Regions from separate parts of the Homo sapiens genome. Here regions 1, 2, 3, 4, 5 and 6 are each linked to region 7. The links are contacts of gene promoters, found by promoter capture Hi-C in human tissues and cell types (Jung and others, 2019). All regions are on one chromosome and are shown on one strand. The core of a region is centred on a gene start or on the middle of the fragment in contact, and the rest is flanking DNA. Distances in the headings are between cores, read along the strand shown. Region 1 overlaps LINC02337 (long intergenic non-protein coding RNA 2337). Region 2 overlaps LOC105370373 (a long non-coding RNA gene). Region 3 overlaps SPACA7 (sperm acrosome associated 7). Region 4 has its middle 62 kb from the start of LINC02337. Region 5 has its middle 17 kb from the start of LINC02337. Region 6 overlaps SPACA7 (sperm acrosome associated 7). Region 7 holds the start of SOX1 (SRY-box transcription factor 1).

Region 1 (2,981 bases), core at 187-2,686, 430 kb after region 7:
GTTATTCGTCATCTTCTGGAGGCCACTTGGGCATTGGGGGGCTGGTTGTAAAGGTATCATTAACTTAGATTTGTGAAAATATGGAAACGTTTCCATATGTGGAACTCATAAGAAGCTAACTAAAAATGAAGCTTTAAGAAAGAAGTAGCAATAAATATTTTTTCTCTAAACATAAGGGATGAGAAAAATACACATGCTTTTTCAATTCCTGGACACAATCTGGCCTGTTCTGCCGCCTGGTGCCTCTTCTTCCCAGGCTGCCCCTGGTCTATGCAGTCAGCACAGTGAGGATGTAGGAGCCTGGCCCCCAGACCCCATGTGTCTCACCACCACCGTGCCGAATGCCCCACTTCACAGATCTGTAAAAGTGGAGGCAGAAAGGGAAAACACAGGGCTCACGCACGTGTGCACACCTGGATTAGAAAAAGAAATATTACTTGGTCTGTTTAAATATTTTGCTTTGAGTTTAAATGAAACAATTGATTCAAAGGAAGGTAGGAACGGTGTGCCCCTGTGGCCTGGGCCCAGGGCTCTGTGTGCGGGCATCTCCCAGCTGGGCTTTGACAATTACTTGAGAAGTGGCCAAAATAGACATTAATGGTCATTCTTGGATGGGAGCAGGTTGTGAGCGATTTCCCACTCATGCATGGCGGTCCTGCCAGCAGAGATGCTGGGGACATGGTGTTCCAAGGCTGCCCTGGAAGGTCGTCTCCCAGAGCTGCGTCCTTGGCCTCTTTTCCCAGCTCCACCTGAGGAAAGGGCTGGCCCAGAGAAGACGGGAGAAATCTGGGCAACGATCCAGAGCGTTCCCTATGAGCAGAATTTACAGAGTAAAGCCCAAAGCAAAGCATTCACTTCTCCCCTCAGTTGCCATGGCCCCAGGGAGCGGGTCACAGTGCCACATGGCCTAGAGGGAGGGAGCCAGGCTCCTGGGTCAGCCAGCATCAGCCATGAAGTCAGGATGAAAACCAGCCCTGGAAGGCCTGCTGCAAACCACATCCAACCCTGCCTCAGAGCGGGCACCAAGACACGAGATGCTGGACAGCGGTGGGGTTCAGTGGAAGGCTAACCTTGCGCTTGGTTTTTAAAGGTTAATTTATTTATTTTTTAGAGACAAGGTCTTGCTCTGTCACCCAGTCTGGAGTGCAGTGGTACAATCATAGCTAGCTGCAGCGTCCAACTCCTGGGCCTCAAACGATCCTCCTGCCCCAGCCTCCCTAGTGTTTTCTTTTAAAAACAGTTCTTAACCCCCAGAATTGTTCACTGTCTTCCCAAGAAGCTGCCCTGGAGGTGAGCAGCTGGCCAGGCTTTCTGATTGCTTCATCACATCATCTGTTTAATGAGAGTCCAGGTAGATGCAGACAGGGGTCCCAAATCTTCCCCCACACTGATGTTTTTTTCTCAGCCTGAGAAACTGCCAACAGAGAGAAAAGGGTTTTGCATTCTGTGCATGACCAGTCGTGTTTATTAAGAGTTACTAGGAGGGGCTACAGCAATTAGCAGGATACGCGCTGAGGATTCTGTGCGACCCCTCTACTCATGAGAACAGGGCTTTGCCCTTCCCCAAAGCCAGAATTAGGCCCACAAATCTGCCAGCAGCACCTCCAGCAGGCCCCATCTATGCGACATGGTGGTCCTCACAGCCGGGACACTCTTACTTACAGCAGGCACATTGCGGGCAACCTCCCTGACCTTCTTAAGTCCTGGTGGCAATGTCAAAAGGGAGAAGGACAGAGGCATTGAGGAGAGCCTTGGTACCCAAGACAGGAGGGGAGAAACAAATATTGGCAAACACTGTTAAGAGGAGAAAGCACCTGCGACAATTCGTGCTCTGAAAGCCTGAAGTCCACGAGGCGTTCACTCCATTTCTATGTGCAGAAGACATTCCCATTCTGCTCCCATCACTGAAGTGATACACATGACAGGATAAAGTCACTTTTAAGCTGAAAATTTGGTAATGTGATCTCTAAAGTAATTCTGAAGCATCTTAGAGTGAATGAATTTACAATTATAAAAATTACTTTTGTAATGCTGGCTGAGCTTGGAGATATGATCAGATGATCATATTGCTAAAATAAAACATGTTAAATTTAACATTATGGCAATTCTGTCATTTCATTCAAGACACCATAAATTGCCACAGCATTCTGGGTGAGCCATTAGCTCACTCTTTTTACTTATGTTCCTTCTTTCTTCTCTTTTTAATCCCAAAGAAATGGCTGTAATGAGTTGCTAATAAAATGACAAATAGGAACAATCTGATTTCATTCAAAGATTGCACATTCAGACAAGACTGACTCTCATTCTGAGAAGGGCTAAAGAAGGCAGCCCTGAGCAGGTAGTACCCTCATCCGTCCCTCTCGTCCAGCTGGGTCTGGTGGGGGTAGACAGACAAAAGGCAAAGGGCCGTCATGGCTGGTGAACACGCTGGGCTCAAGGCCACGGGGAATGTGGCCGTCATTTTCCAGGCTGGGCTCTGCAGCAAAGCCTCTAGTGCAACCCTGGGAGCCACTTTGATTGATCCATGCGGTTTCCATTCCTGATCACCGTCAAGGTCTCCGGAGGTGCTGAGAACTCCAAGCACCCTTGACTGCACTGAAAGGCACTGCTGCACATCATTTGAAACAAACAAGTGCCCACATACCTCACATTTAAACTGATTTTTACTTTAAAGCTTTGGAAGGACTTTATAATTGTTCTTTTGAGAGACAGCATGGGACGGTGCTGAAGTGCCGTGTGGAAAGCCCAGCTCCGCCTTTCCAAGCTGTAGGATCTGGAAAAAAGTTACTTAAAATCTCTCTGCCTCGTCTATAGGATGGAAATAGCAATAGCACTCATCCCATGGGTGATTATGACCAGGAAGTAAATTAACGTAATAGGGACTTGGAGGGAGCCGAGCGCCTCCCAGGCGCTGCTGCGTGCTCCTCTGCACTGCCATTTGGCAGCCGCGAACTCACGTGACTTGCAGCTGGCGAGGCTGC
Region 2 (2,734 bases), core at 171-2,670, 300 kb before region 7:
TGATGCTGGCTATTATAATGTAAACTGTTTTCTAAATGAAAGAATTAAAGGAATGTAATTGGAGAAGTATACAAATAGTGGTTAATATGCTGCTTCTTGCAAAGGCATATTACAACTTATAATCTTCCTTTATGGATGTATGTTGTTAGTGCTTAATCAGGCATGTGAATGTATTCAGGTGTTAAACCATTCTATTAGCTGGGAAATTGCACTATTATTTGCTGAGCTGTTTATGTTATATTGTTGTTGGCTCTCTGAGTTTCTCTTTCTCTCCAAGCTTATCTTACTCTGGTCTCTGCAATCTGTATAATTGTCTTCTTTACTTTTGTCTTTAGAAAGCTTTAAATAGAGATACTGGGAACGATTAACTGTGTCAGAATCACAAAGTTCTGCTGCTTTACAGATTAATTGTAGAGACATTATGCCGATGCTTTAAAAGGCAGAAAGAACCTGGATGCAGAATGGAGGGTCACAGCAGGATCGTGGCCAATGACACTTCCTGCCCAGGAAGTGTCCACAGGAGGAGTCTTTGAAGACTAGCAAGAAAATGCAGGGCACCTTCCTGGATGCATCAACCTTGACCTCAGTGGTCTATAATAGCCCTGCAGTCCAGAGGTCCCGCTACTAGAAATTCTAAGTGTTGGAGACAAAAGTGAAATGCCAAGGGGGAATGCTGTCTCCTCTGGGAAAGCAAAATATTTACCTGAGAAAGAAAATCTCCTAAAAGCTTTCTATACCATCCATCCATCCATCCAACCATCCATCCATCTATCCATCTATCCATCTTCCCTTCCCTTCCCTTCCTTTCCCTTCCCTTCCCTTCCCTTTCCTTTCCTTCCTTTTTCTTGTCTTCTTATGGAGTATGTCTGCTGAGAGGATCAGATTACATGGAATCAGATTAATTGTAGATTTCTACATGTGATACAATCCAGTATATTGGCCACGATTGGCTATGAAACCAGTAGCACAAAATGGCAGAGTTTCCCAGGATGGCCAAGACTGGCCTGGAAAATCTGGGCAAGTGTGTTCTCTGAGACCAATTCCATATATTCAGGCTCCGTTTTGTATTAGTTTCTTGAATTCAAATAAAGAATCCAATGTTGCTTTAAGAAATAATTTTGGCAAAATCAAATACAAAATACATTGTATGAGGATGGAGTCACATCACAGTGAAAGAAAAAAATACTTGATTACATAGAATTATTAATTGGAAAACTAGGAGAAAAGTGTTGATCATGAGTTCGATGTAAAACTGTGCTAGAAATGTTTATCAAGACCTACTATTTGTAAAACACATTGCTATGGAGTTAGGCCTCTGTTAGCAGAGTTTAAATTCAGTTTTTCTTTCAAAGAATATCATTAGCTGGCAGGACAAACAGGGAAACAGGGTTAAAGAAACTTTAAAGATGTTTCCTAGCCATGTTCCCATCAATACGTTTGCTCAAGTCTAACAGCTGTTATTCCCGATAGCTACTGAATGCAGACAGCATGGTTAAATGCCTAGACATTCTTTGTGGAGTACAGTCATAAATTCACAGTTGTCGGTGCTCCAACTGTTGGAACTAAGAGTGACTAAGAATTAAAACTGGGAATCCCGGAAGTCCTGACCAGAGAAATCAGGCAAGAGAGAGAAATAAAAGGCATCCTAGCAGGGAAAGGGGGAAGTCAAATTATCTGTTCTCACTAATGCGATTTGATACCTGGAAAACCCCAAAGACTCTGTCAAAAGGCTCCAGAACTCATACATGACCTCAGTAAAAAGTTTCAGGATACAAAGTCAATATACAAAATTCAGTAGCATTTCCAATAACATTTGAACTGAGAGCAAATCAAGAACATAATCCCATTCACAATAGCCACAAGAAATAAAATACCGAGGAATACATCTGACCAAGGAGGTGAAGGATCTCTACAAAGATAACTACAAAACGCTGCTGAAGGAAATCATAGATAACACAAACAAATATGCTTATGGCTTGGAAGAATCAGCATCATTAAAATGGCACGATGCCCAAAGCAATGTGCAGATTCAACACCATTCCTATCAAACTAGCAATGTCATTTTTCACAGAATTAGAAAAAAAAAACTATTCTAGAATTCACGTGGAACAAAAAAAGAGCCCAAACATCCAAAGCAATCCTAAGCAAAAAGAACAAAGCTGGAAACATCACATTACCTGATTTCAAACTATGCTATAAAGCTACAGTAACCAAAACAGCATGGTACTGGTACAAAAACAGACGTATGGACCAAAAGAATGAACAGATAACCCAGAAATAAAGCTGCACACCTAGAGCCACCTGATCTTCAACAAAGTTGACAAAAATAAGCAACAGGGAAAGGACACCCCACTCAATAAATGGTCCTAGGATAGCTGGCTATCTATATGCAGAAGAGTGCAACTGGACCCCTACCTTTCACTATATACAAAAGTCAATGCAAGACAGATTAAAGACTTAAATATAAGACGACAAACCATAAGAATCCTAGAAAAAAACCTAGGAAACGCCATTCTGGACATTGGCCTTGGTAAATAATTTATGACTAGGTCCTCAAAAGCAATTGCAACAGAAACAAAAATTGAGAAGTGAGACCTAATTAAACCGAAGAGCTTCTTCATAGAAAGAGAAATTATCAACAGAGTAAATAGACAGCCTACAGAATAGGAGAAAATATTTGCAAACTATGCATCCAACAGAGGTCTAATATCCAGAATCTATAAGAAACTTAATG
Region 3 (2,802 bases), core at 104-2,603, 310 kb before region 7:
TGCTCCTAAGATCAGTGCTTGAGATATTTTGCAGATCCTGCCCTTGATGGATCAGCCGGCACCACCCAGATGGATAAAGTGGCTCATCTGATCTTGTGGCCCCCACCCGGGAACTGACTCAGTGCAAAAAGACAGCTTTGACTCCCTGTGATTTCATCCCTGATCAGTCAGCACTCTTGCCTCACTGGCTTCCCTCCACCCACAAAGTTATCCGTAAAAACTCTGTTTCCCGAATGCCTGGGGAGACTGATTTGAGTAATAATAAAACTCTGGTCTCCTGCACAGCTGGCTCTGCGTGAATTACTCTTTCTCTATCGCAGTTCCCCTGTCTTGAAGAATTGGCTCTGCCTGGGCAGGGGGCAAGTGAACCCCTTGGGCAGTTACAATAGCGTGTCTGCATTTTTTTTTTTTTTTTTGGGGGACAGGGTCTCATTCTGTCAGCCAGGCTGGAGTGCAGGGGTGTGATCATGACTCACTGCAGCCTCGACCTCTTGGGCTCAGGTGATCCTCCCATCTGAGCCTCCCAAGCAGCCAGAACTATAGACACATGCCACCACACCCTGCTAATTTCTGCATTTTTTTTGGTAGAGATGGGGTTTCACCATATTTCCCAGGCTGGTTTTAAATTCCTGGGCTCAAGTGATCCACCAGCTTTAACCTCCCAAAGTGCTGGGATTAGAGGTATGAGCCACTGCACCCAACCTGTGTTTGCCTTTTAAAAACAGTTTCTAAACATCTTTTTGGTGACTCATCACCCTGGCGTCATGATCAGTTAAGTAAAACAAGAGTTTCATTAATAATTTTTAAATAAGATAAGCTATTGAAACACTCAGTACTAAGCAAAGTTTTCTTATTTTATATGATACAGAGAGACTAAATGTATTTGAGTCTGTTAACAAAAGTTGTTTTTGCCACCTTGAAAAATTATGCTGTAGATAAATATATCTCTAAAAATTGTAAGATGGTATAGTCATACAATTTGCTACTTTGTTACAGAATGCTATATGTGACACAATTCACAACTGTCTACTCCTAGTTTTCTCTGTTGAACATTGTAATCAACATAATCAACATGTGTAATTAAAACTATTGGAAATAATGAGGGTGAAGAAAAACAACTTCCTGTGCAAAGTATAAAGGAAAGTAAGATCTGTTTTTGATAAGAAAGCTTATGTGATATGAAGAATGTGTTTTTGTTGACGAAAAAAGTGAGTAATTTTGTCCTACAGTGGTTTAAAATTTGTTTTTTCAGGAAGAGAAAAAACCGGACAAAATGCGTAAATTAGTATGGAAAGATGTAACGAGTCTCTGAGAAAAAAAGAGAGAGAAAAATCTTATGTGGTGAAGATACACTAGCAGTAAATGAATTTTATTATAAGATTTTATAGATGAGCTTTAGTATCAAGAGTGTAGCAATGCAGTACTGGAGTTTGATTTTCTCTGTCTGCTAAAAGGCCAAAGTTTTGTTGAATTATTGGTCTGGTTTTTTTTTTTTTTTTTTTTTTGAGACTGAGTTTTGCTCTTGTTGCCTAGGCTGGAGTGCAATGGCGTGATCTTGGCTCACTGCAACCTCCACTTCCTGGGTCCAAGTGATTCTCCTGCCTCAGCCTCCCAAGTAGCTGGGGTTACAGGCATGCACCACCATGTCTGGCTAATTTTGTAGAGATGGGGTTTCACCATGTTGGTCAGACTGATCTTGAAATACTGACATCAGATTATCCGCCCATGTTGGCCTCCCAAAGTGCTGGGATTACAGGCATGAGCCACCACGCCAGGCCTGGTCTGTTCTTAATAAGAGATTGTAAGAGGTACTTGTTTCTTACCTGTTGAGTAGTCTTACTAGGAAACAAAGATTCTGTGTCTTATCAAATATTTCCTGTGTTTCATGTTTTCTTTATCATGTTTTTGATTACTTAAGAAAACTGAGTCTCCTCAATATTAAAAGAGCTAAATTGTTTTAAAAACCATGCTACTTCCTATATTTTCTTTAAAAATTCTTTACTGTCATTTAACTTAAATGGATAGCTACCATTTCATAGTAACTTATGATCCTATTTAACCAAATATTCAAAACTTTTATAATTTTTGACAACTTCATCCAAGTAAAATTCTAAATGAAGAATTTTGACCTCAAACTAATTTTGAGATTTCCCAGAGGGCCACTAGAAAATCTCAAAGGATTTGTTCTCTCACTTGGTGAAAAGAAAGATGTTAAACTAATTAGCTTTATTTGATACATTAAATTCGTAAAAAGCATTGTCAAATAAGGGATGTTTAACCTTCTTTATATTTGTATGCATATATGTTATAAGTGTTTCAGAAATTGTATTAAATTCCTAGAAATTTTCACTGTCCTTACTGTCCATGATATGTCCTGGTATAAAGTTATGAGTCCTAATTTCCGTTATTGTCTTGTAATGTTGTATGTCACAGAAACAACCAAATTTCCTTGTCAATTGCAGCATAATGAACTCTCATCAGATTTTTAACCATGGCCATTTTATGCATTTTATGTCTTTTGTCATTCAAGACAATTATTGTTTTACTCTGATGCTTTTTTGAAAGCTTTTGCAATCAGCTACAGTCCAAAAATTCTTTGTCTTCAAGGAGATTTTTAGGTAAGACTCTGCCAAGTACTCTGGAGTAAGGTTTCTGACGCCTCTAAGATTGCACTATTAGACTGGACTTTTCCAGAACTCAGGGAGACATTGACGGATTTGTAAACCTGCTAACCCAAGATCAAGTAGAACAAGAATTAATGATGTGGGACTCAATGTGGGGACGATTATAATTTTTCTGAAT
Region 4 (2,700 bases), core at 123-2,622, 410 kb after region 7:
CTTTGAATGTCACATACCTAGCATGTTTCTGCCAGTTATTGGTAGTGTTATCAATAAACATCAGAATTAGAACCTAAGCTTCTTTTCCTTGAAATTAATTCACATTAATTGAAAGTGTGAGCTAGAAGTGAAACTCTCATGGGCAATGGACATTTCAGGTGCTTTCAATTCTGGCTTTTCTGCTGGATGTACTTCTTCCTAATAGTGAGAAACGCAGAGGGAAGACATGAGAAGGAGATGGAATTCGCATGCCCCGGTAGTATTTATTTTAGGTCACTGGCGCCCCTCAGTAATGAAGGTCATGGAAGAGCCCAAATGTCAATAAGAAGGTCTTCAGGTGGCAGATTCCTGCTTCGGTTCCAGCCCCCTCCTTGCTGGAGTCAGACATCAGGAAAAGAGATACAGTCCTCAACTGGAGTGTTGACAAAGCCGGTTGGCATCCCAGTGGAGATTAGGTTGCTGATCTTGTAAGGATCAGCTACTTACTCCAGGATGTTTACACTGGCATTGATGTAGTGACATACTGATCTAATTACATGTCAATAAACCAAAGTCCTGATTCACTGAGGAGACCACAGAGGATTAGAGGGCTCCATTGGCAATTCTTAAAGAACAAGGACTCAACCTTCAGACTCAATTACAGCAAAGTTAGCCAACTGTAAAGCCGTGGCTTGGAGGGAGAGAGAGAGAGGGAGAGAGGTCAAGCTCCATTTCATAACCTCCCTTGGACCTGCCTTTCTTGTTGTTGTTGCTGTCAAGCTTTCTGTTTTTCTGAAGCTTGTTTTCACCCAGCTATTGGCTCTTGTTACATAATCTATATAACTGATAGATTCCAGAGACTTAGTGCAGAGCAGGAGAAAAACAATGCTCATCCGATTGCAAATCAGCACCGGCCTGCCCACACTTCCCCTGCCTGCCTCCTGCACCACGCACTGGAAACGCAGCTGCCTGCACAAAGGAAGCTGGATTCCCGGGAGACCTTAACAAAGAGGTATCAGAAGAGAGAGGCGGAATGCATTCAGCCTTCCCGGGCCTGCTGCCTGGGCCCTGTGGCCGCCGTGCCTGGAGCAAGCAGGGATCCTCAATCTTTGCTGAAATGCATCATGTTTGGGGAGAACGATTTGAAATGGGGACTGGTTTGGTTGGCCTGCTGTGCCTGGGTCTTTAATGTCAAACAGTCAACAATTGTGCAGTTTTATTTATTAATCAGAGTTTTGCTTTGTTGCATTTTGAAGTTCCCCACACTGTGGGTTGAGAGCAGATTGGAAATATTTCAGAAGTGCAGTTCCATGTCCCTAACAGAACTTAGCAGATCATATAGATGAGAGAAAGCAAGGGAAGTGCCAGGCATAACCTCTAGTGCAGGCGTCAGCAAACTTCTTCTCTGAAAAAAGAAGTAATAAATAGTTTTGGCTTCTCAGGCCACACAGTCTCCATTGTGGCTACTCAGTGCTGCCAGTGCAGCTCAAAAGCAGCCCCAGATATGCAAATGCTTGGGTGTGGGGTTGTTCCAGTCAAACTTTATTTAGGAACATTGAAATTTGAATTTTATATAAATTTCATGTGTCATGAGATACCATGCTTCTTGTAATTTGTTTTCCAACCACTTAAAAATGGAGAGACCATTCTGAGATCACCAGCCGTACAAAGCCAGGTGTGGGCTACCATGAGTTGGCCCCTGCTCTGATGGTTAGCAGGGCTTTGACAAACTGGAACTTCCTGGTTCTAAGGTAAGGATGCTATGCCGATGACCTGAAAGTGGTACCTGTGCTTAGAAAAAAGCTAGATGTGGGTTTTCTACTCCCCAAAACTCACCTAGCCTAATCTTTTCATGGTTGATGGAAATTGGAGCACACATCTTACAGGATGTCTGGCTTCCTGCTGGACATCATGAGACGATCTTTTCTAGTCCTCAAAGAGGCTGCTAACAAGTCCATGCAACTAGGGCAGACAGTAAAAGCAGAAATGAGAGTAAAGAGGTTGCTAGTCTTTTGTGAAGGTCTGGTTGCTGGCATAAACTCCCAGTGTCTTTCGGCAATCAGCTTTCTGCTGCATGTTTGCATTCCAGGAGCCAGGAGACTCTCCAGGCATTTTGGACAGACCACGCCTCATCTCTGATGATGCCCTCAGGCTTCACAGGTGCGCTCTCATGGACATAGCAAGGCTGAGGCGTGACTGCTGGGCAGAGGTGAAACTATGAGGAAGGAGGAGGCTCAGAGGAGACACTTCAAGACAAAAAGAAGTCTTTCTTGGTGCTGCTGAGGGACAGAGGTGAGAGGAAGAGGTAAAGTGGTGATGGTGAAGTTTCTGGAGCATCCTTCCTGGGCACGGAGTGAGGCTGCAGGTTCTACTCCTGGGCAGCCGCGGTGGCTGCCAGTGGTGATGGCGAAGTTTCTGGAGCACGCTTCGTGGGCACGGAGTGAGGTTGCAGGTTCTACTCCCGGGCAGCTGCAGTGGCTGCCAGTGGTGATGGTGAAGTCTCTGGAGCACCCTTCGTGGGCATGGGGTGAGGCTGCGGGTTCTACTCCTGGGCGGCCGCAGTGGCTGCCAGTGGTGATGGTGACGTTTCTGGAGCCCCCTTCCTGGGCACGGGGTGAGGCTGCAGGTTCTACTCCTGGGCGGCCACGGTGGCTGCCAGTGGTGATGGTGACGTTTCTGGAGCGCCCTTCGTGGGCACGGGGTAAGGCTGCAGGTTCTACT
Region 5 (2,783 bases), core at 94-2,593, 490 kb after region 7:
TTTAGAAACGTAGACTCTTTCTCTGGCAAATCCTGCTTGTGTTCTTGGGCCTGAATTTGGTCCCATAAATATTCCTAAAGCAATCAGTGGCAAGAAAATAGGATTATTACTAATGGCTTGGGTGCTAGAAGGTAATGGGTCAGTACCTTCAAAATCATGATAAAAATTTATCTCTATTCTATACCTTATTAATAAATGATTAATCAAAGTAGAGACAGACAAAGATATTTAAGACTCATGAGCATTCAGGAAATTTACTTCCCATGCCTTCTTTCTGAGGAAGCCACTGCAGGATGCGCTCCCACAAAACAAGAGAGCAAAGCTCCAAAGGAAATAACGTGGGGTCGCAGAAGCTTCATTATCTCAAGCAAAATGTAAGATCCAAAAGTGGTTTAATTCTCAAACTCTTAATGCCTGAGTAAAATTGTAACTTTTCTCTGCCTGGGTGTACAGCATAGTTCCTTAAACAGCCAATATCCTGAATAGTCTGAGGCCGTCCATGTGCCCTTCCACCAGGGCAGTTCTAGGGCTGCTCAGGCCACAGCTCCTTTCAGCAACTCCCCCTCCGTCCTTCAGGGTCACTGCAATGGGGACATTTTTTCATTCAAAGGGGCTAGCAGAGCACTTTGCACATTGTTGGTCTTAACTTTTTTTTAATTCAAGTAACAAGAATAGGTGTTACTTTTCTGATGAAAAAAATAACTTTCAAGTCAAAGCAGTGTCGAGTTATATATCCCCAAAAATGGAAAGCAGGGACCCCAATAGATACTTGTCTGCCCACGTTCACAGCAGCATTATTCTCAACAGCCAAGAGACAGAAACAATCCATGTTCATCACAGATGAATGGATGGACAAAACGTGGCGTGTACATACCTTAGAATAAACACTCAGTCTTAAAAAGGGAATGAAATTCTGATTCACGCTACAGTGTGGATGAACTTTGAGGGCATTATGCTATGTGAAGTAAGCCAGTCACAAAAGGACAGATACAGTACGATCCCACTCATATGAGGTCCCTCGAGTTGCCCCATTCATGGAGACAGAAGGTAGAATGGGGGCTGCCAGGGGCTGGGGGCCAGGGAAGGGAATGAATGTTTAATGGGTGCAGAGCTTCAGTCTGAGATAGTGAAAAGTTCTGGAGATCGATGGAAGTGATGGTTGGACAATGTAAATATACTTAATGCCACTGAACTGTATGCTTAAAAATGGTTAAAGTGGTTAATTTTATTTTGTGTATATTTACCACAGTAAAAATCACTAAAAAAAAAAAAAAAAAAATCAGAGCAATGAGTCTGCTCTGACAGTAGTTTCAAATGTAGCCTTAAGAAGTCACTTAACTTCTTTGGGCCCCAGATAGCAAAAAGCTAGTTTGAGACAAGCCTATTTGTATTATATATGTTAAAGCAGCAGAACCAATTTTGTGTGTGGGTGTGTGTGTGTGTGTGTGGGTGCGTGAAATCTGATGCACACACCCTAAAACACTAGGCTGCTGTTGCTATGACCGGCTGCGGCAGTTCCGTGTGGACCACGAGGCCAGGTCAGAGCTTCTCTGATCACATCAGCCCCCCGACACACCCAGGAGATTCACTGAATACAGTTTAAAAGCCACGGAAAAGTGTTATCAGTTCAGACTCCTTCACTTCCAAATATTTATGACTTCATCATTTATTCCATGCTAAGAATGAAAAACATCTAATAAAGAACCTACTCATGGCTGGGCGTGGTGGCTCATGCCTGTAATGCCAACACTTTGGAAGGCCGAGGTGGGCAGATCACCTGAGGTCAGGAGTTCAAGACCAGACTGGCCAACAGGATGAAACCCTGTCTCTACTAAAAATACCAAATATTAGCTGGGTGTGGTGGTGGACACCTGTAATCCCAACTACTCGGGAGGCTGAGGCAGGAGAATCGCTTGAATCCGGGAGGCGGAGGTTGCAGTGAGCCGAGATCACATCATTTCACTCATACCTGGACGACAAGAGCGAAACTCCATCTCGAAACGAAACAAAACCAAACCAAAAACAAACCGAAAAAAAAGAAACTACTCATGAATAGACAGCAACACCCAAGGACAGCACTCTGGCACCTCATGCTACCCACAGCACCTACCAAGAAGATAATTAATCAACCCTGTCCTCGCCTGTTTAATGTCTGGCTGCCCAGGGAAAATGCATGCACCACAGTATCGGATCTCGCCTGCACCTGTCTTTCCAGCACAGCATAGCCCTTAGCTCTGCCCCCAGGCACATGGTGGAACCACACTTCCTGACTCCCTTGTGTGCGGGGGACACATGTATAATTCAAGCCAACGGACTGCGAGTGAAAATAACCCCCGTCAACTCCAGCCCACAGCACTGAACTGCTGCTGGAGGGAGGTCTTCCAGAACTCCCATTCTCTCATTCCACAACCAGCAATTTCCAGACAGTGTGTTGTGGGGTACGGGTGGAGGACAGGGCCCAGCCGAAACTCGGGGTCTGCATTGTGTGTGTGAGCGATGACTGCTGTGTCAGGCCGCTGAGACCGGGGCTGCGGTGGCCTCACCTAGCTGAGCTTTCCCTGACCACTCTGTCCCCAGTGCCTGGGACACAGCGTGCACCCTGATGTGTGCCCAGTGAATGAATGGATATATATGAGTATGTTGTAATAACATGAAGTCTAGAATGGGGCTATCCTATCCAAACATACCTGATGAGCTAATTATTACCATCTGGATGATGTGCAGCACCCATTAGCAATTCAAGAGTCTATACTCCTGAGAGTCCAGCTATTGTGATCTCACCC
Region 6 (2,895 bases), core at 170-2,669, 330 kb before region 7:
CAAGGAAGACTTAAAAATATTCCTGAAAGATAGGAAATGACATTGAACAAACAGAAAGACATTACTTATTCTTAGATAGATCCACTCAACATTGTAAAACTGCCAGTTATTTTCTAAATTACTTTACAAATGTAAAGCAATCCCAATAAAAACATAAACTCAAGGAAAGGAAATTAGACATGTTACCAAAAATATAATCAGGGAAACATGGAAAAAGAAAAGCTAAAAAAACTAAAAGAGGGAAGTGTGTCCCAGAGGTTAAAATACACTCTGAATAACACACTGTGGTGCTGGCCCCTTAGTAGAGGACTGTGCTGCATGGCCCAGACAGGACAGTCACATACAGAAAAACTTTGTGTGTAATACGTGTGGCTTTGCAAATCATGGGACAAAGATGGACTTTTAAAAAAATGGTTCAGGGATAACTGGGTAGCCATTCATAAAAATATAAAATTAGGAACACCTCACACCATGCTCAGAGATAAACTCCAAATGGATCCAAGAGCTAATGTAGCAGATGAAGTCCTATAAATACTGGAGGAAAACAAATTCTTCTTTAGCCTCAGTGTGGAGAAAGACTTTCTAACTCAGAAAGTCAAAAGCTAAAGGCAGTCAGAGATTGATAATTTTGGCTACACAAAAATTGACTTTTTTTGCATGAAAAATTATAAACGTAGTCAAAAGTCAACTAACAAACCCCAACAATTATCCATCTATCATCTATCTGTCTATCTATCATCTCTCTCTCTCTAAAAGTTTGTTCTTAAAATATAAACAGCTTTGAGAAATGAGGCTAAAAGACCAAAAACCTAAAGGAAAATGGGAAATTGTAATGAATGCAACATTTACAAAAGTGGTATAAAAATGGCCCTTAAACATATGAGATGTTTAAACTCACTCATAATGAGACAATTGCAAACAAAAGCAGTACTGAAATACCACTTCTCACCATGATGTTGGTGGAAACCTAATGGCATAACAAGGCATACTGGCGAGGCTGGAGGGAGACAGTCACCTCACACACTCATGCCTCCGTCTCTCCCACAGAGCTCTCAGTGTGGGCAGGGCACATTTACCTTTACTGGAAACACTCTTCTCACTGCCAGGAGACACCTGTGGCCCACGATAATTCTCAGAAGGATCGCCATGGAGATTTGCATTAGCATTGGCTTCTTTAATGACAAATATGGAAAAAATGGGGAAAATGTCCTTGATTACACACTTATAAGCACTTTGGTCATTTATTTATTTAAACATGCTAAGTTGAGATGCTAATATCATTTTCAAGTTTTATTTGAAAATATGTTTTGGAAACTCAATATGTGAATACAGAGCCAGGCCTCATCTGACTATTAAAACTACATATTCACTCCTCCACACGTCCTTTGACCCAACATCCCAATGCTAAGAATTGACCCTGGAGATAATTCCTGACAATATGAAAATACCTGTGCTATAGGCTGCTCACTGCAGCTGTGTTTGAAATGGCAAAATATTGCAAACAATGGAAAGATACATACAAAAAATAATGACTGCAGAACTGGGGTAGGAAGAAAGGAGTGCGGGCAGGAAAGGAGGATTTGCACGGATCTGTGATTTGCACAGAAGTGTTTCCTAGCTCTTTCTGTGGAGAGGGCCTGGAAGAAATGCTGTGCCATTGAACTTAGCAAGCATCCAGTTCTTGGCTCACAATCAGTAACGGTGTTAGTGTTTTATAACCCACAGACTATAGTAATCCCTAGTAGCCCATGTAGACAGTAATAAGCAACCGAATACATAAACAGGGGAGGAGGGGCAGCTCTTTCTTAAAGCAGAATCCCAATTAATAAATGGAGAAGCAATGGCAGAAAGAGAAACTCGCCAGTTGGCAAACACCACACTGACCACCAGGCAGACAAATTTGGAGGTATTCATATTAATTTTAAATAAAATCTTATTCCTGTTTAAGTCCTGAAAAAATCGAGTTCAATCTTTCCCAACTCCAGAGTCTGTCTTATTGGGGGGACTCTTTGGGGTAATGGATTGGGATGCAGATTCCTGGGCTCCTACAGAAATGCTTGGCTCCTGGCACACCATCAGATACTGGAGCTGTGACCTGGTCCTGTGTGTGGGGAACACCACAGATGTCCTACATGTGTGTCCCAGTGATATGGTTTGGCTCTGTGTCCCCAACCAAATCTCATGTCTAAATGTAATCCCCAGTGTTAGGGGAGGGACCTGGTGGGAGATGATTGGATCATGGGGGCAGAGTTGCTCCTTGCTGTTCTCATGATAGTGAGTTCTCATGAGGTCTGGTTATAAGTGTGTGGCACCTCCCCCTTCACTCTCTCTCTCCTGTCTCCATGTGAAGATGTACTTGCTTCCTCTAGGGTCTTCTGCCATGATTGTAAGTTTCCTGAGGGCTCCCAGCCATGCCTCATGCACAGCCTGCAGAACCATGAACAAATTAAACCTCTTTTCTTTATAAATTACTCAGCCTCAGGTAGTTCGTTGTAGCAGTGTGAGAATGGACTCATATACCTGGGTATATATATGTGCCCTTTCTGGTTTTGAATCTCCAGGGTAAAGAGGAGGTATTTTGCCCCTCCATGGGGTCCAAGTATCTTATCCTCTGAGCCTTTGCACACTGATTTTTTTCCCAGCAGACTCATCTGTTGGAGGGAGGCTTTTCCCTACTTCTGGGGGACCCCCCTGGGGGCACTCTGGCTCTCTCTGCACCTGCCCTGTGAAGGAGAAGTGACTTAGCTGAAGCTTTGGGAGAGGGGGCCAGGCATTGTGGCAGCACCTGCCTCCCTGTCTTGGCATCTGCCTGCCCATGAGACATTTCTGCTGTGCTTCCCTGGGCTGTGTTTTTTCCAGGGTCGGCCCCACAGCAGGGGGTGAGGAAGCTGGGGG
Region 7 (2,866 bases), core at 57-2,556:
TGTAGCCCTGCGAGTTGGAGATGGGGCTGTACTGCAGCGCGCCCATGTCGTAGCGGTGCATGGGCTGCGGGTTGTGCGGGTGCGCGTGCGGGTGGTGCGGGTGCGGGTGCGCGGGGTGCGCGTGCGGGTGCGCGCCGCCCGCGCCCGGGTGCTGCCCGTAGGCCAGCTGCGCCTCCTGCATCATGGCCGCGGCCGCCGCCGCCGCCGCCACCGAGCCGGGGTAGGCGCCGTTGGCCCAGCCGTTGACGTGCGCGTAGCCGCCGCCCGCCGCGCCGCCTGGGCTCTCCAGGCGCTGGCCCACGGCCGCCGCGCCCACGCCCACGCCCACGCCCATGGCCACAGCCGCGCCGCCGCCACCCGCGCCGGCCGCCAGGAGCCCGCCGGCCAGCGAGTACTTGTCCTTCTTGAGCAGCGTCTTGGTCTTGCGGCGCGGCCGGTACTTGTAATCCGGGTGCTCCTTCATGTGCAGCGCGCGCAGCCGCTTGGCCTCGTCGATGAACGGCCGCTTCTCGGCCTCGGACATGACCTTCCACTCGGCCCCCAGGCGCTTGCTGATCTCCGAGTTGTGCATCTTGGGGTTCTCCTGGGCCATCTTGCGCCGCTGCCCGCGGGACCACACCATGAAGGCGTTCATGGGCCGTTTGACCCGGTCCTGGTTGGCCTTGGCGCCCCCGCCGCCGCCGCCGCCCCCGCCTCCGCCCCCGCCGCCGCCCGCCCCGGCGGGGCCCGAGAGGTTCGTGGGGGCCTGGGCGCCGCCGGGCGAGTGCAGGTCGGTCTCCATCATCATGCTGTACATCGGGGCGGCTGGCGGGTTCACCGGCACCGCGAGGAGAGGGCCTGGAGCATAGACGGCCGGGGTGGGAGGGAGACGGAGAGGAATTCAGACGGAGTGAGACGGGGGCGGGGGGGTCCTAGCGGAGAGAAGAATGGGGAGGGGTGGAGGCAACGACAACAAAAAAAGGCAGAAACACACGCACTCGGCGCCGGTTCGGCTCGCAGGTGGAAAGTTTCTCCTGATGCACAAACCACTTGCCAAAGAGGCCGACGGTCGGGGTCGCCGTCTTCGCCGCCACCGCAGCCCAGGCGCCCTCGGCGGAGCGGTGCAAACAGGTGCAGTCGTGGCCAAGTTGCAGCTCCGCTTTTGGGGCCGGGAGCGGTGCGCTGGGCCCGGCCCGGGGTGTGCTGTCTCCTCGCCGGCCGCCGCTGCGCGCTGTCTCCTTCCTCCTGCGCTCGGTCCTCAGCGGCCTCCAACTCGGAGGCTGCAACTTCTAGCAGGGCGGCGCGCCGCGTGCGCTGGGCATGTGCTGGTCCCAGGTGCCCGGGGGAAGCCAGGCGCCAGTGGCGGGGGGGGGGAGGCGCAGGGGGGCCTGCAGGGGGCGATTACGGTGCAGCCAGGGAGGGGCCCGGGGACAGCGGGAGGAGCGCGGGCTCGCGGAGAGGGCCGGAGAGCCGGGGCCGCCGAGCCCGGGATGGGCTGCCCGCTGCCTGCCCGGGGCCGTGCGCTCGGAGCGGAGGCGCACGCGGGGCCGGCGGCGCGCGGGGCCCAGCAGCCATACGCCGGGCCCGGGCTGCCATTAAATGAGCGCGCCGCGGCCAATGGGAGCCGGCGGCGGCGGTGATTTGCATGGCGCGCTGGCGAGTGACGTGGGGAGGGAGTAGATACACTGGGCGCGGGCGGCGGAGCGGGGAGGAGGGGAGGAAGGAGGGGGAGCAAAGCAGGAAGGAGGGGGGAGGAGGCCCGGGAGGGGGTGACAGCCACACCGCTTCCTGAGCGCGCGCGCGCGGCGGCGGCGGCGGCGGCGAACCCCGAGCTCGCCCTCCTCGCCGCTCCCCGCCCGCGCGTTCCGAATGATTAACGATTGGGTTGAAAAGCGAAGACTAAGAAAGGATCGTCGTGGGGTGGGGGGAGGAAACGCAGCCCCTGGCCAGGTTTAAACGGGCGCAGTGGAGACCCAGCTCCTCCTCTGCCCCCGCCGGCCAACTCTGTGCCTGCAGGGAAGGGGAAAGTTGAGTGCGGGGCTGGCACGTCGCCCTCAGTTCCCCCGAGTGCTGAAAAGGAGGGGCGCTCCCTTGGACGCAGGGGATACCCTCCGAGGGCCCCTGCAGGTTCTCTGCAAGGATCAGGCGGCTCAGCCATCCCCCGCCCTGCATCCGTTCTCGGCCGCGGCGTGCACTGAAGTTCGCCAGTGCCCGCTCTTGCAGCGAAGGCCTTCACAGTCCAGGCCCCACAATTCGGGTAAAGGGGGAGTATTTGTGTGGGCATGGCTCCATAGCTTCGTTTAGTATCAGCCCTAAACTTTTGTGGGGAGGAGTCTTTCAATGAGCCCGGGGCCATAGTCACGCACTCTTCCCAACCCGGATCTTCTTCCTCTGGAAAAGGAATTTCTAGGAAGGCCGAACACAACAAGATCTATCTGGAATCTAGTTCCTGAACAACAGTTGAAAAAGTTTGTTGAATCGCAAAATAATGATATGGCGCACGCTTTTCTGGAGTGAATTTCCCACGAGCTGGTTGCCTAAGAACGGAGAAAACTGCGTGAACTGCGCGGGGCCACATAAACCGAATGAAAGGCGGGGCCTCAGGACGGGTCTCAGCCGCCGGTCTGCGTCATGCAAAGGAAAGGCCTGGCTCGTGGAAAGAGTAAGGCATTCACCTGTGGTTATCATTCTTAAACCTCAAAGTGGCTTTGATTTGGGAACGTGAAAGAGATTTTCAAACGCAGTCTCAAGTAGCATAGCGCTCACACTACCGTTTCCACCAGACTGATCTGAAAGTGGTCCAAAGACGACTTTTGAGCCCAAGTATTCCTCCTCTGCCCTCCCCGAGGCACCCTGAGATGAGAGTGCTTGTGGAGATTGGTGGTGG

What was found. Contacts are between HindIII fragments. The study calls those that stand out against the background at their distance.
Region 1: a fragment that was not itself captured here is called in contact with the fragment with the promoter of SOX1 in region 7 in 5 of the 25 tissues and cell types used here (H1 embryonic stem cells, IMR-90 fibroblasts, dorsolateral prefrontal cortex and 2 more).
Region 2: a contact is called between a fragment that was not itself captured here and the fragment with the promoter of SOX1 in region 7, in 4 of the 25 tissues and cell types used here (H1 embryonic stem cells, liver, mesenchymal stem cells and 1 more).
Region 3: a fragment that was not itself captured here is called in contact with the fragment with the promoter of SOX1 in region 7 in 2 of the 25 tissues and cell types used here (lymphoblastoid cells and mesenchymal stem cells).
Region 4: a contact is called between a fragment that was not itself captured here and the fragment with the promoter of SOX1 in region 7, in 7 of the 25 tissues and cell types used here (H1 embryonic stem cells, IMR-90 fibroblasts, dorsolateral prefrontal cortex and 4 more).
Region 5: a fragment that was not itself captured here is called in contact with the fragment with the promoter of SOX1 in region 7 in 1 of the 25 tissues and cell types used here (dorsolateral prefrontal cortex).
Region 6: a contact is called between a fragment that was not itself captured here and the fragment with the promoter of SOX1 in region 7, in 3 of the 25 tissues and cell types used here (spleen, stomach and thymus).

Annotation. Positions count from the first base shown.
Region 1 is chr13:111,640,178-111,643,158 of GRCh38, reverse strand. It overlaps LINC02337 (long intergenic non-protein coding RNA 2337), which reads right to left. Exons shown (of 2, transcript NR_135814.1): 2 at 1,080-1,414. Among named protein-coding and RNA genes, the nearest start is that of LINC02337, 46 kb to the right of the region's middle. The HindIII fragment of the contact is 3,151 bases long and covers 1-2,981 here.
Region 2 is chr13:112,360,995-112,363,728 of GRCh38, reverse strand. It overlaps LOC105370373 (a long non-coding RNA gene), which reads left to right. Exons shown (of 3, transcript XR_944295.3): 3 at 336-2,116. Among named protein-coding and RNA genes, the nearest start is that of SPACA7, 14 kb to the left of the region's middle. The HindIII fragment of the contact is 3,875 bases long and covers 1-2,734 here.
Region 3 is chr13:112,379,109-112,381,910 of GRCh38, reverse strand. All of the region lies in intron 1 of SPACA7 (sperm acrosome associated 7), which reads right to left. All of the region lies in intron 3 of LOC105370372 (a long non-coding RNA gene), which reads left to right. Among named protein-coding and RNA genes, the nearest start is that of SPACA7, 4.2 kb to the right of the region's middle. The HindIII fragment of the contact is 3,218 bases long and covers 1-2,802 here.
Region 4 is chr13:111,656,646-111,659,345 of GRCh38, reverse strand. No RefSeq gene overlaps it. Among named protein-coding and RNA genes, the nearest start is that of LINC02337, 62 kb to the right of the region's middle. The HindIII fragment of the contact is 3,813 bases long and covers 1-2,700 here.
Region 5 is chr13:111,577,902-111,580,684 of GRCh38, reverse strand. No RefSeq gene overlaps it. Among named protein-coding and RNA genes, the nearest start is that of LINC02337, 17 kb to the left of the region's middle. The HindIII fragment of the contact is 3,908 bases long and covers 1-2,783 here.
Region 6 is chr13:112,399,346-112,402,240 of GRCh38, reverse strand. SPACA7 (sperm acrosome associated 7) reads right to left here. Exons shown (of 7, transcript NM_145248.5): 5 at 1,077-1,172. The region is part of intron 2 of LOC105370372 (a long non-coding RNA gene); the gene reads left to right. Among named protein-coding and RNA genes, the nearest start is that of SPACA7, 24 kb to the right of the region's middle. The HindIII fragment of the contact is 5,032 bases long and covers 1-2,895 here.
Region 7 is chr13:112,065,589-112,068,454 of GRCh38, reverse strand. SOX1 (SRY-box transcription factor 1) reads right to left here and starts at 1,306. Exons shown (of 1, transcript NM_005986.3): 1 at 1-1,306. The coding sequence starts at 796. All of the region lies in intron 1 of SOX1-OT (SOX1 overlapping transcript), which reads right to left. The HindIII fragment of the contact is 28,986 bases long and covers 1-2,866 here.